Regions from separate parts of the Homo sapiens genome. Here region 2 is linked to region 1. Evidence: promoter capture Hi-C in 16 types of primary human blood cells and fetal thymus (Javierre and others, 2016). All regions are on one chromosome and are shown on one strand. The core of a region is centred on a gene start or on the middle of the fragment in contact, and the rest is flanking DNA. Distances in the headings are between cores, read along the strand shown.

Evidence for each region. Contacts are between HindIII fragments. The CHiCAGO score rates a contact against its expected background, and 5 or more counts as called.
Region 2: a fragment that was not itself captured here is called in contact with the fragment with the promoter of ZDBF2 in region 1 in 2 of 17 cell types (total B cells and naive B cells); the score reaches 18.6 in total B cells.

What each region holds. Positions count from the first base shown.
Region 1 is chr2:206,271,104-206,276,526 of GRCh38, reverse strand. ZDBF2 (zinc finger DBF-type containing 2) reads right to left here and starts at 1,864. Exons shown (of 5, transcript NM_020923.3): 1 at 1,581-1,864. RefSeq lists an enhancer at 1,007-1,506 and silencers at 1,170-1,629, 1,910-1,969. The HindIII fragment of the contact is 6,855 bases long and covers 1-2,643 here.
Region 2 is chr2:199,464,388-199,469,592 of GRCh38, reverse strand. SATB2-AS1 (SATB2 antisense RNA 1) reads right to left here and starts at 1,495. Exons shown (of 2, transcript NR_026830.1): 1 at 1,332-1,495. It also overlaps a transcript of SATB2 not described here. The HindIII fragment of the contact is 8,458 bases long and covers 1-5,205 here.

The DNA of each region.
Region 1 (5,423 bases), core at 615-3,114:
CAAATAATTAGGACTCTTATTTGCTGCAATCAACATCACCACTATTCCAAAGAAAAAATAAAACTAATGTCTAGTTTAATTGCATCTTGCTCATTTGAGTGCTGACAGTACCTTGGATTAGCGACTCTCAAGATTATTTAACATGACACACAGGAACCAATAAATTTTTAATTACAACCGAGCACACACGCACAGGCACATACGCACACTTAAAAGATTTTTCACAAAACAATACTCTCATTACATGTAATGCAGTCTGATATTTTCTATGCGATCTTACTTTTTTTAATGCTAGTCACGACCCACTAAATTTCACAATGCACACGCGCACAGTTAAAATATTTTTCACAAAACAATACTCTCATTACATATAATGCATTCTGATTTTTTTATGCGATCTTATTTTTTTTTAAATGCTAGTCATGACTAAATTAATTTCACCATTCACGAACCGGCTGAAAAAACTCAGTTTGAAAAAACACTGCCTCCAATTATTATGCAGAGTAAACCATATTTTATAGAAACCAGTTCTTACCCTGAATTCAGCTTATTTCTATCCAAATCACTGGCCACTGCAGTGATACTTTATCAACTCTCTAACGAGTTGCTTTCTTGCCTTCTAGGCTTTAGGTTCAAACGATAGAGAAAAGGTCTTCCACGTATTAAGTGAAAAAAGCAAATAAACACCCCTTATGTAACACACGTATATATGTTTGTGTATTAATTAAAAAGGAAGGAAAGATACCCCCCAAATTGTTAGCAGATTCTCTCGAGGATGAGATCGCTACAGGCTGCCTCCATCGTCCCTCCCCCTCCCCACACGTAGCATATTGCTGTAAAAAAGAAAAACAAAAACAAGCTATTTCCTTTAGGTGGGGGTGGGGTTTTGGTCCCTTGAGAACCAGTATCTTGTTATGCATTTTTTTCACGAGCTACCAAGAATCATCGCGTGAGATAATCGCAGGAGCTGGTAAGGCCCTTCTTAGGAGCAAGTAAAAACGATGGCGTAACACGACCACATTTACACAACTGTTGCACGGCGGTAGTAAAAGAATCATTAACACAAAAATCAAACGTTTTCAAATAAACTATAATCGCCCGAGGCTGGGAAAGGCCTAGGTCTGGGGCCAGCTGGACCCAACGCAGGGCACTGGGGGAAGGGGGTGTGTGGACAGGTGGCTCGGGATCTCGGCCCCACAGGTGCCCAGGGGCAAGACTCCGCGGGTTCCCGGCCCTCAATCCGACCCCGCAGACCGCCCCCTCCCCAAGCCCGGACCCGAGGCCTCGTCCGCCGGCCCCTCTGACCCAGGGCCCCGGACAGAAGCGCAATGCAGCCTGCGCCCCACCTCCTTCCCTCGCCCCGCCACCTCGATCCCGGCCCGGAGCCGCCGACACCTCTCACGCAGCAGGGGCAGAAAGGGACGCGGGGTGGGGGGAAGCCGAGGACCTGCGAGGCGGCCGCGGGAGCCCAGCGAGCGGTCCTGGCGTCCCTCGGGAAGAAGGCGCCCCGGGCGCCCGGCGAGCAGGCCCCGCCCGCGGGCGTCGCCCCGGCCGCGCCCCGCCCCCGCCGCGGCACTCACCTCCGCGGAGGCTGCCCGGATTCCTTCCGGGCCGCGGTGGAGACCGAGGACCGAGCCGGGCGCTCTCCCTTCTTATTCCGGTTCCGCGGCGGCGCCCGAATCCCAGACCGTCCGAGCGCCACGGCCCCGCTGCCCGCGGAGCCAGAAATAGGCGACTTCGGCCCCTGCGGTCCGGAGGCGAGAAGCGGCGCGGGAGCGCGTCTCTCAGGACGCGGGCCCCGAGTCGCGACTCCACTCACGCAGGCATCCAAGGCAACGTGGCGTTGCAACCCTGATGGAGGTTTGACGTCAGGGAAGGTGCGAAAACCAGACCCCTTCTGACGCAGGAGCGGCGGGACCGCCCCCTGCCCGCCCACCCACTCACTCACTCTCCCACCCGGGCGGAGGAGCCCCTTCCTCCCCTCCAGAAGCTCTTAAAGCGGACACTTCCTCCCTGGTCAGGGCCCCACTCCGGAGCTTGGGAAATCTATCGCGTTCCAACAAAAATGACTAGACTCATAAGCACAGTTGGGACGCGAAGTAGAGACCAAGGTTTTAGCGTTTGAGGGTCCAAATAAAAACTGCTTGCCAATTCAAAGCAACGTATGAATGTAGAAAAGAAAACGGGGCTAAGAGAGCTAGTCGTTTCCGTTTCCATGCCTATTTCATAGTGAGGTGCATCTCACAAAAGCTGCTGTTCAATGAGCGCTTGCTCTGTGCTAGGCACCGTTTAAGGTTTCTATACATTATTGCATTTCATTTCAGAGTAACTCTGAATGAATCCTATTATTGTCCCCCTTTGACAAATTGAGAAAACTGAGGCTTAAGGAAGTTAGGTATTCAAAGATCTATCCTGCACATTAAAGGGTTACAAATATTAACAAACAACATTAGGTCATGCAATTATATTCACTGCGCTACCCCATTACGAATATAGTTGTGAGCAAAAACAGTTTAAGTGTAACGGAGATCACAAACCTAAATGAATCACACTACTGAATATGAAATTATAATCTGCGATAAGAAGGTTCTGAAACACCTAAACCAATTTTACTAAAATGGAGAGAGGCCCTGTTGCAAAGCTTATGTCTAATGTAAAAATAATCTTAAAATGAGCTACTTTGCTCTTTGGCTGTAGCTGTAATTGTCGTTACCCTTTTTAGTAAGCTTGTGATTTTGTCCCTTTAAAGAACAACAACAAAAAAACTTGCCTATTGCTTTTGCGTCCATTGTTTTTATTCTTTCTGTATTTCTCAGCTCCTTCTTCCCCCACTACATCTTTCTCTCACTTTAAAGTTGGGCTCCTGCAACTGTTCGATTTATAACCTCCCTTAGATTTAACATACCAAAAAGTACGGATTTCTTTTAAGGCAAGTTTTTTCCACATCCCAACTTTGGAATTATAGAAAATCCACTATACATTGATCGAAGCACCATGACATTATGTATTTCACAGATGCTAAGCCATGTTTTTCCCCACATTTTAACATCTGTGAAATCAAGATGCATCTTATAAACTCTCGTTGACCGGGTGGCAGTACAGACCTGGTTGTCATTACCTCCACGTATTACAACGTGGATGTTGCTGTGCAGGTTGTCCTCATTTCAACTGAGATAAGTGCATTGTTTAATAAAACCCATAACCCTAGGAGGAAGGGAATTAACAGACAAAAGTCACTCAAACTTGGAGAGAGATTTTCCTAGGGAAAGAGGGAAGATTTGCCTGGAGAAGATTTTCCTAGGACCAAAAAGAGATTTCCCCAGCATTTAGAAAAGAAAGAGATGGGACTGGCTAAGAACTAGTAGTCTTCTGGGAGCCCTGAGTTACTTACCAAGTACATTCATTCTTGATGGATTTTGGGAACCCATATATGAACAGTTAAATACTAAGCCTACTTGCACCCCCCAAAAATGAAATAACTTCGATATTATTCTTGATAGCCTGATTAGTCAGTTACAACCCCTACAGCTTTTATTCAATAACACCATTGAAGGAGGAAAACAAGTCCTGAATGTTTTGCGTGAAAACACAAAATTGACATATTCAGGTGAGATCAAGAAGGTGCCAGCATCAAAACTTGCAGAATAAGATCAGCTGCTTGGAAGAAAATCCTGCATACAATAGTGCAGCATTCTTCCTTCCTTTCTCTCCCTCTCTGTTTTTTGTTTTTGTTTTTGTTTTTGTTTTGAGACAGGGTCTCCTTCTGTCACCCAGGCTGGAGTTCAGTGGCGCAAACACGGCTCACTGCAGCCTTGACCTCCCAAGCTCAAGCGATCTTCTTGCCTTAGTCTCCAAAGTGGCTGGGACCACAGGCGTGTGCCACCATGCCTGGCTAATTTTTTTACTTTTTGTAGAGATGGGGGTTCTCACTTTTTTGCCCAGGCTGGTCTCGAACTCCTGGCTTCAAGGGATCCTCCCACATTCACCTCCCAAAGTGCTGAGATTACAGATATGAGCTGTAACTGTGCCCAGCTGGAGCATTCTTAAAGTTAGATGCATCACCAACACTTTTGGTGGAAAGCTACAGCCATGGACAACTGATTCAAAAAGTGATTCATAAAAGTTGAGCTCTGGGCTTGGCGCGGTGGCTCACGCCTGTAATCCCAGCACTTTGGGAGCGCGAGGTGGGCGGATCACCTGAGGTCAGGAGTTTGAGACCAGCCTGGCCAACATGGCGAAACTCCATCTCTACTAAAAAAAAACACAAAAATTAGCCAGGCATGGTGGTACATGCCTGTAATCCCAGCTACTGGGGAGGCTGAGGCAGGAGAATCACTTGAACTTGGGAGGCGGAGGTTGCAGTGAGCTGAGACCGTGCCACTGCACTCCAGCCTGGGTAACAGAGTGAGACTTCGTCTCAAAATAAATAAATAAATTAATTAATTAAAAAAATAAATAAAATGAAAGTTGAGTTCCGAATATGAAGTTTCTGAAATACCTAAACCAATTTTACTTATATGTCTCTTTTTATGCATTCACAAGATCAATGCATAATAAATGTGTCAAAGTCTGAGAGTGCTCTTTTACTGAGTATGAAATAAAAATAGGCCAGGTATGGTGGCTCGCACCTGTAGTCCCAGCAATTTGGGAGGCTAAGGCGGGAGGATCGCTTGATCCCAGGAGTTCAAGACCAACTTGGGAAACAGCGAGACCTCATCTCTACAAAAACTACAAAAAAATCAGCCAGGCATGGTGGTGCATGCCTGTAGTCCCAGCTACTCAGGAGGCTGAAGCGGGGGAATCACCTGAGCCCGGGATGTAGAGGCTGCAGCGAGCCGTGATCGCACCACTGCATTCCAGCCTGGACAACAGTGTAAAACCCTGTCTCAAAGAGAAAAAAGAAAAGAAAAAAAGAAAAACACTAAATTACAAGAAATTGTGTTATAGTTTAGTTGGCAAAATTTTTCTTCCAACATGATACTATCATAAAACATCAAAGGGAGTGCCATTCTGCATCAGATCAGCAGTCCGCACAAACCAGATTTCCGTCTACTGGCAATGGGCACGTTTTGTGGGAGAGCTTAGTTATCTATAAGGTTAAGCTCCAAAAGTTGTAATTTCCCCCTCAATTCTTTATTAACCCATTACAGATCTAAACACATTACACATCTAAACATATTTAAAGGACCTTAGAGATCAGGATTGGGTTTGTATGTACTTCATTTCCTCCCCCAACATATTTGGTCCAGGGAGAAAAAAGTGCTGAGTATGTGTTATTTCACATGCTTCCTTCTTTTAAGGAACACCAAAACCTGCTCTTTTGTGTCTAGAAAGCACTCCAATAATGTCTACATTTTGTAAGCCATTTAAGCTAATATTAGGCTAATGTCTTAAGGAAAGGCTATTTGGAAAAAACAAGATCT
Region 2 (5,205 bases), core at 1,920-4,419, 6.8 Mb after region 1:
GAGTCAAATAAGTGATCTCGCTACTTTACGCTCCCTGCCCACCCCCACCCCCACCACCACTTTTCTTTTCTTCTTTTCTTTTTTGGTTGATGGTCTGTCTGTACTGAGCGGGTATCCCAGAGCTGAGGTGCAGGAGTAGTGAGCGATGCCGGGGCTGGCTTTCCTAGATTTAGGAACCGCCGGGGGGCGGAGGAGAGTCGAAGGGGCATCCACTTCTTTGGAGGGAGGACGCCGTTTACTTCCCGCAGACGACGGGCGGGAAGACCTCGGAGCTGAGGGCTTCTTGGGGTGGCTCTTTGAGCAGGTAATTCTGCGGCGAAATCGAGAGCGGGTGACTGACACGCTCGGTGACGACGGCCAGGCGGGGCAGCACCCTTTCCGGTTAACAAAATGATTAACCTTCCTGCCTTGCCTGTAGTGGGCTCTCCCCTCCTCCTTCACCCTCCCTTCCTCCGGGATTAGGGGGTGCTCTTTTCAAGGAGAGACTGGAGACTCGAGATGTGGGCCCTTTCTCGCCTCCGCGCGGCCTTTCCTCGGAGCCAGGCTGGGGAACCCGGTGAGGCACGCAGACCAGTCCCTTCGAGACGCCCGCCTCGCGGAATCGGGTTCACCGGCCCTGTCCCGCACGGTCCCCTGGGTCATCTCCCCCTGCAACCACTTGTCTGAAACTTACCAGATTCCAACCTTAAGGCAGGAAAAAAAGTGTTTCATATACAAACTGATCAGGGTATTTGCAGATAATTGCGAATGTCAAATACTCGGGCGTGATGACAAAGTGCAGAGATTGCCAGGGCCAGAGCTTGGCCTGAGGGGCGGGGGCTGCTGGCGGGGCTCCAGGGCCACCTCAGGCCTGCCCAGAGGCGGGCCTGCGAGGGGTAGAGCAGTCAGCCGCAACTGCCAACAGCCCATTTAACGAAGACGGCTGCTTCTTCTACCCCTCGGCTATGGAGCTGATTCATGGATTCATTCACTTAGTCTATACTGGAGCTCCGCTCAGGGAGGAGGTGCGAGAGTGGATACTGCACCAGCCCAGCTCTCTCTCCCTCACTCCCCACTCCTGATGCACAAATACCTCACTGCAAGATTCCCCACAGGTGGAATTGCTGGGCCTCAGTTGGATGCTTAGGCCCAAAGCGAAGGCCCTGCCAGGCGGTGCTCCCAGAGCTAATGTCCTGTGGCAGAGTAGGAAAGAGCTACAAGCCATTTAGGACAAACAAGTGCACCCTTTGATACTGAGGTTAGTCTTCAATAGAAATAAAGAGGGACATTAAAAAAAAAAAAAGGAAGAGGAAGAAACGAAATACTGGACCCACCCACCCCAGTCCTCCTACCGGGTTGCAGGAAGCCATCCTGGTGCCATCAGAGCCTGGGTGCAAACGGCCCACCAGAGCTGACCCTGCCAAGCTCTCAGTGACAGCAAAGGTGGCTGCTCTCAACAGCTTTCAGAGCAACTCCTCTGAGACCCTACTGCAGGCACACTCAGAATGTTTCAAGTGCCTTGGATTCTTAAAAAAAAAAAAGAGAGAGAGAGAGAGAAAGAAAAAGAAAGAAAGAAAGAAAGAAAAAAGAGTGGGGCGTGGAGGGTGGTGTTACTCTTGTTGGATTCCACATCTACTGAAAACTGAGTGGATCAATTATGGGTGATACCATGATGTTGGTGGCAAGTCTGGCTTCCCAGGCCAGAATCGCAGGGGTTTCAGGACCTGGATGCTGAGACCGAGAGGAGCAGTGGAGGCAGGGACACCCCATTCTGCATTAGGTGGCATAAGCTGCAGTCACTGAGGCCCTGGCCCCGGGGTCCTGTGTCCTAGGCCAACGTGGTGGTGGTGAGGGGGCTGGGAGGGGTATATTGCGGTAGGGATGCTGAAAGACCTTGACCTGACTGCCCTCTCCTTTCTGAGAGCTAAAGAATGTGGTGGGGATTCTTCCAAAGCCGGGAGAAGGCAAGACTAGTGTGTGCTAGTGGGTGCAGCTGGGCTGCAGAGGGAGGGAATTCCTGCCGACTACAGGGAGCCCTCTGTGCTTGTCTCTCTCCCCCGCCCTCAGCCCTCTTCCCCTTTCATTGAATGCCTGAAGTCAGAGCCTACCTGGAAACCCTCAAAATTTTACACTCCACTTGTCCGAGGTTTCCAATGATGACAAATTTGAAAAACGCTTCGGCTGAAGCCCGGCACCTAAGGCTGAGAGTTGGGGGGAGGGGAGGCTGTTGGATAAAAGCTCCTTGGAAAAGACACACTTGCCTCCCCCTTTTTCGCCACGCGGAAACTGGCCGGTCTGGACAAGGGATTGCGCTGGGCTAAGGCCTCGGGCTGGGGAGAGCTCCAGCAGCCTGAAAGCCGAATCCGCAGAAGTTATCCACCTGGCTCCTTAGCCACCGGCCAACAAGAGGGCTCTGGGCGTCCCGCCCTTCACGCCTGTATTAGAAAGGCCTGAGTCTGGCCGGGAGACCTGACTTGAGGTCTCTTGGGAGGAGCAGGGGGTGCCAGTTCTGCAGGGGACTTGCCCAGTTCCAGTGAGGCTGATGTAGAAAACAATAGCTCTGTCCTCAGCCTGGGCGGCCAGCCGGGGCCGCACGTGTAAGATGTGATTCTATCTGAGTTTCCAAATCTAAGTGCATTGATTGAGGCCCAAAGAGTTCACGGCGCATAACTGTCTTAATTAAACCTGCTATAAACAGACAAATCACTTCTTGTTCTTGTAAATAGAGCTTGGGGAGATGGCACAGGGTCTGGCAAAAGCCAGGCTTGGGGAACATTCTTAAAAAAGGAAAAGAGTACTGAGACACAGACAGAAAAAGAATAAAACTGGAGTATCCACATCTTCAGAAAATAGCTCAACTGAAACCAAAATATGCCATAGCAGGGAAGTAATGTGAGACACCCTAAGTTCCCAGAGCAGCTCAGTGGAGGCTGGTAGCCCAGGATGGGACCAATGGTGGAAAAGCAGGGAGCCGGAGAGACCACAGGTTGTTTGGGGGAGGACAGGTGCCCATTGCTGAGGCTCTGAGCTACTCTACTTGGCCCTGCACTTTCCTTGCCAATCCTTCCATCTTTCCCTGCCACTGATCTCAACTTCCTGATACTGAGAGACAGTGCTGGGAGGACAAGTACTCTCTCAACTTGGTCAGCTTGGGGGACAAGGGCTGGTCACCAAGAGCTCAGAGATAGCAACAACTGGGGATGATGGGTGATCATAGGAGTCCAGCGGGAGCAGATGGGAAGAAAAGTTGTCTGTGATCCTCTGGGAAAGCAGAAAATGGGGAGTATGTACACCCACAGCTCAGATTCTGCTGTCCCTAAGTGCCGGCAAGGGCTGGGGGATGATCTTGAGTAGGGTCAGGTGCTCCAGTGCCCCAGCTGTTGGGTGTCCAGAAGAGGTTAGGTGTGTGGTAGCTCTGGGAAGAATGCGCGAGACGTCCTTCACTTGGAATGTGCAAAGGGCCGGGTCTGTCTCCAAGTAACTCCGGGTCTCCGGAAGTTACCTGGCAGGGGCAGCCCTCAGCAGACTTTGGGTCTTACAGCATAAAACGAGACGAACTAAGGGGAGCCCACCACTTTTCTAGCTAAAAGTGGAAAGGAAAAGTTGTCTATAATATGTAAATACAGGAGATATGAGTGCACAGGTTTGGGTGGGTTCCTGGTAACTTCTGGAGCCGACTTTTCCCTGGTCTTGGTTTGCAAACTTTAATTCCCATTTCTTTTCCTTTACTATTTAGCATATGACTCTAACAATAATCTGATTCAGAAATACTCTTCATTTCGTTAGGCTAACATTGATAAGGAATTTAAGTTCAGGTAAATTTTAGCACAACACTTTTCTAAAAAGTAACTTTAAAAGTGTTTTTAACTTCCACACAACAAAAACGAAAAAAGTATATATCACTATGGTTGGAGAGAAACATTCTTAGATTGCCTTTATATTTCAGAGACTTTGTATAGGTGCCAGCAACTCCGCAGACACTAACAAATGGGTTATTTGCAGTTATTGTTCATGAAAGGTCTTTTATATTTTTAAATTACGGCATGGTTCCCAGGTGGAAAAATTCCTTACAATTAAGAACTGGTTTTCAAGAAGATTGGAAAACCAGAACAAAAATTACAACGTTTTATCATATAGAAGTCTTTACTGAAAACAACGGATATTGAGTGGAAGTCAGAATGTAATGAAAGTTAATTAAAATGCAAACTATTAGGGAAACACTGCAGATGTCTTTCTGTCATATCCAACGGGACAGTCTTTAGATATTCCACCCTCCCTTATATTATACTTGTATTGTGAGACTTGAATGGTTGTCAACAGTTTTCTGTTGACAGAAATAACAACAGTTCACCTTTGAAAACTCTTCACTCAAAGCTACAATGATGATTGCTCTCGAGACAAGGACTGCTGAAACAAATAACTTTCACACATCTACACTCACACTTGCACACCCCAAACGCACACGCAATTGCCGGTTTTTGAAAACGTTGCCTCTGAATGAGAAAGAGAGAGAGAGAGAGAGACTGAGAAAGTCGAACTCGAGCTTAGGTAACCAACAAACCCAATTACTAGGCTTTATTGATACTAAAAGGAAAAGTTCCCCTCGTAAAATTTCTCTGAGCTTATTAGTTATTTAAATCAGCCCCAGGGTTGGACGCGTGACGCCGAAGGCACCTTCTGTCGGCTCCTGGAGGTGAGCAGCCAGCGTCCCTGCGCCGACCCACAGCCCCTCGCTCCGTCCTGGGCACTTGGGGCGAAGGCGGGCGCAGCGAGCCGAGGTGAGCCACTGGGCAGGGGCGCAGGGCCCGACACGCCGGGAGAGAGCTCCGCGTGGCCTAGGGTAGGACACCGGGCATCACACTTTGGAAAGGAACAGGTCCCAGCCAATAATAAGGGAGTAGGCGAGTAGGCCACGCGACCGCGGGGCGCAGGAGCTCAGCCGGCCCGCTGCCTGGCTCGCCAGACCCCGGCCCGCTGGGCACCGGCCCCTGCGACCCGGCCGGAGCGCTGGTGTTCGCGCCGTGAGTCGGGCGCGGGGCGTCTCAGACCTCCAGGGCTCGCTAGTGTTTTGTGTGGGTCTGGGAGCTTTGCAATTGGGTGGGCACCAGGTGAATTTACACCTTTCTGGGTCGCTGTCTCAATAGTTGACAAGTCCCTCTGTGTGTGTGTGTGTGTGTGTGCGCGCGCGCGCGTGGAAATGGTGGTGGGGGTGTATGTGAACAGCTG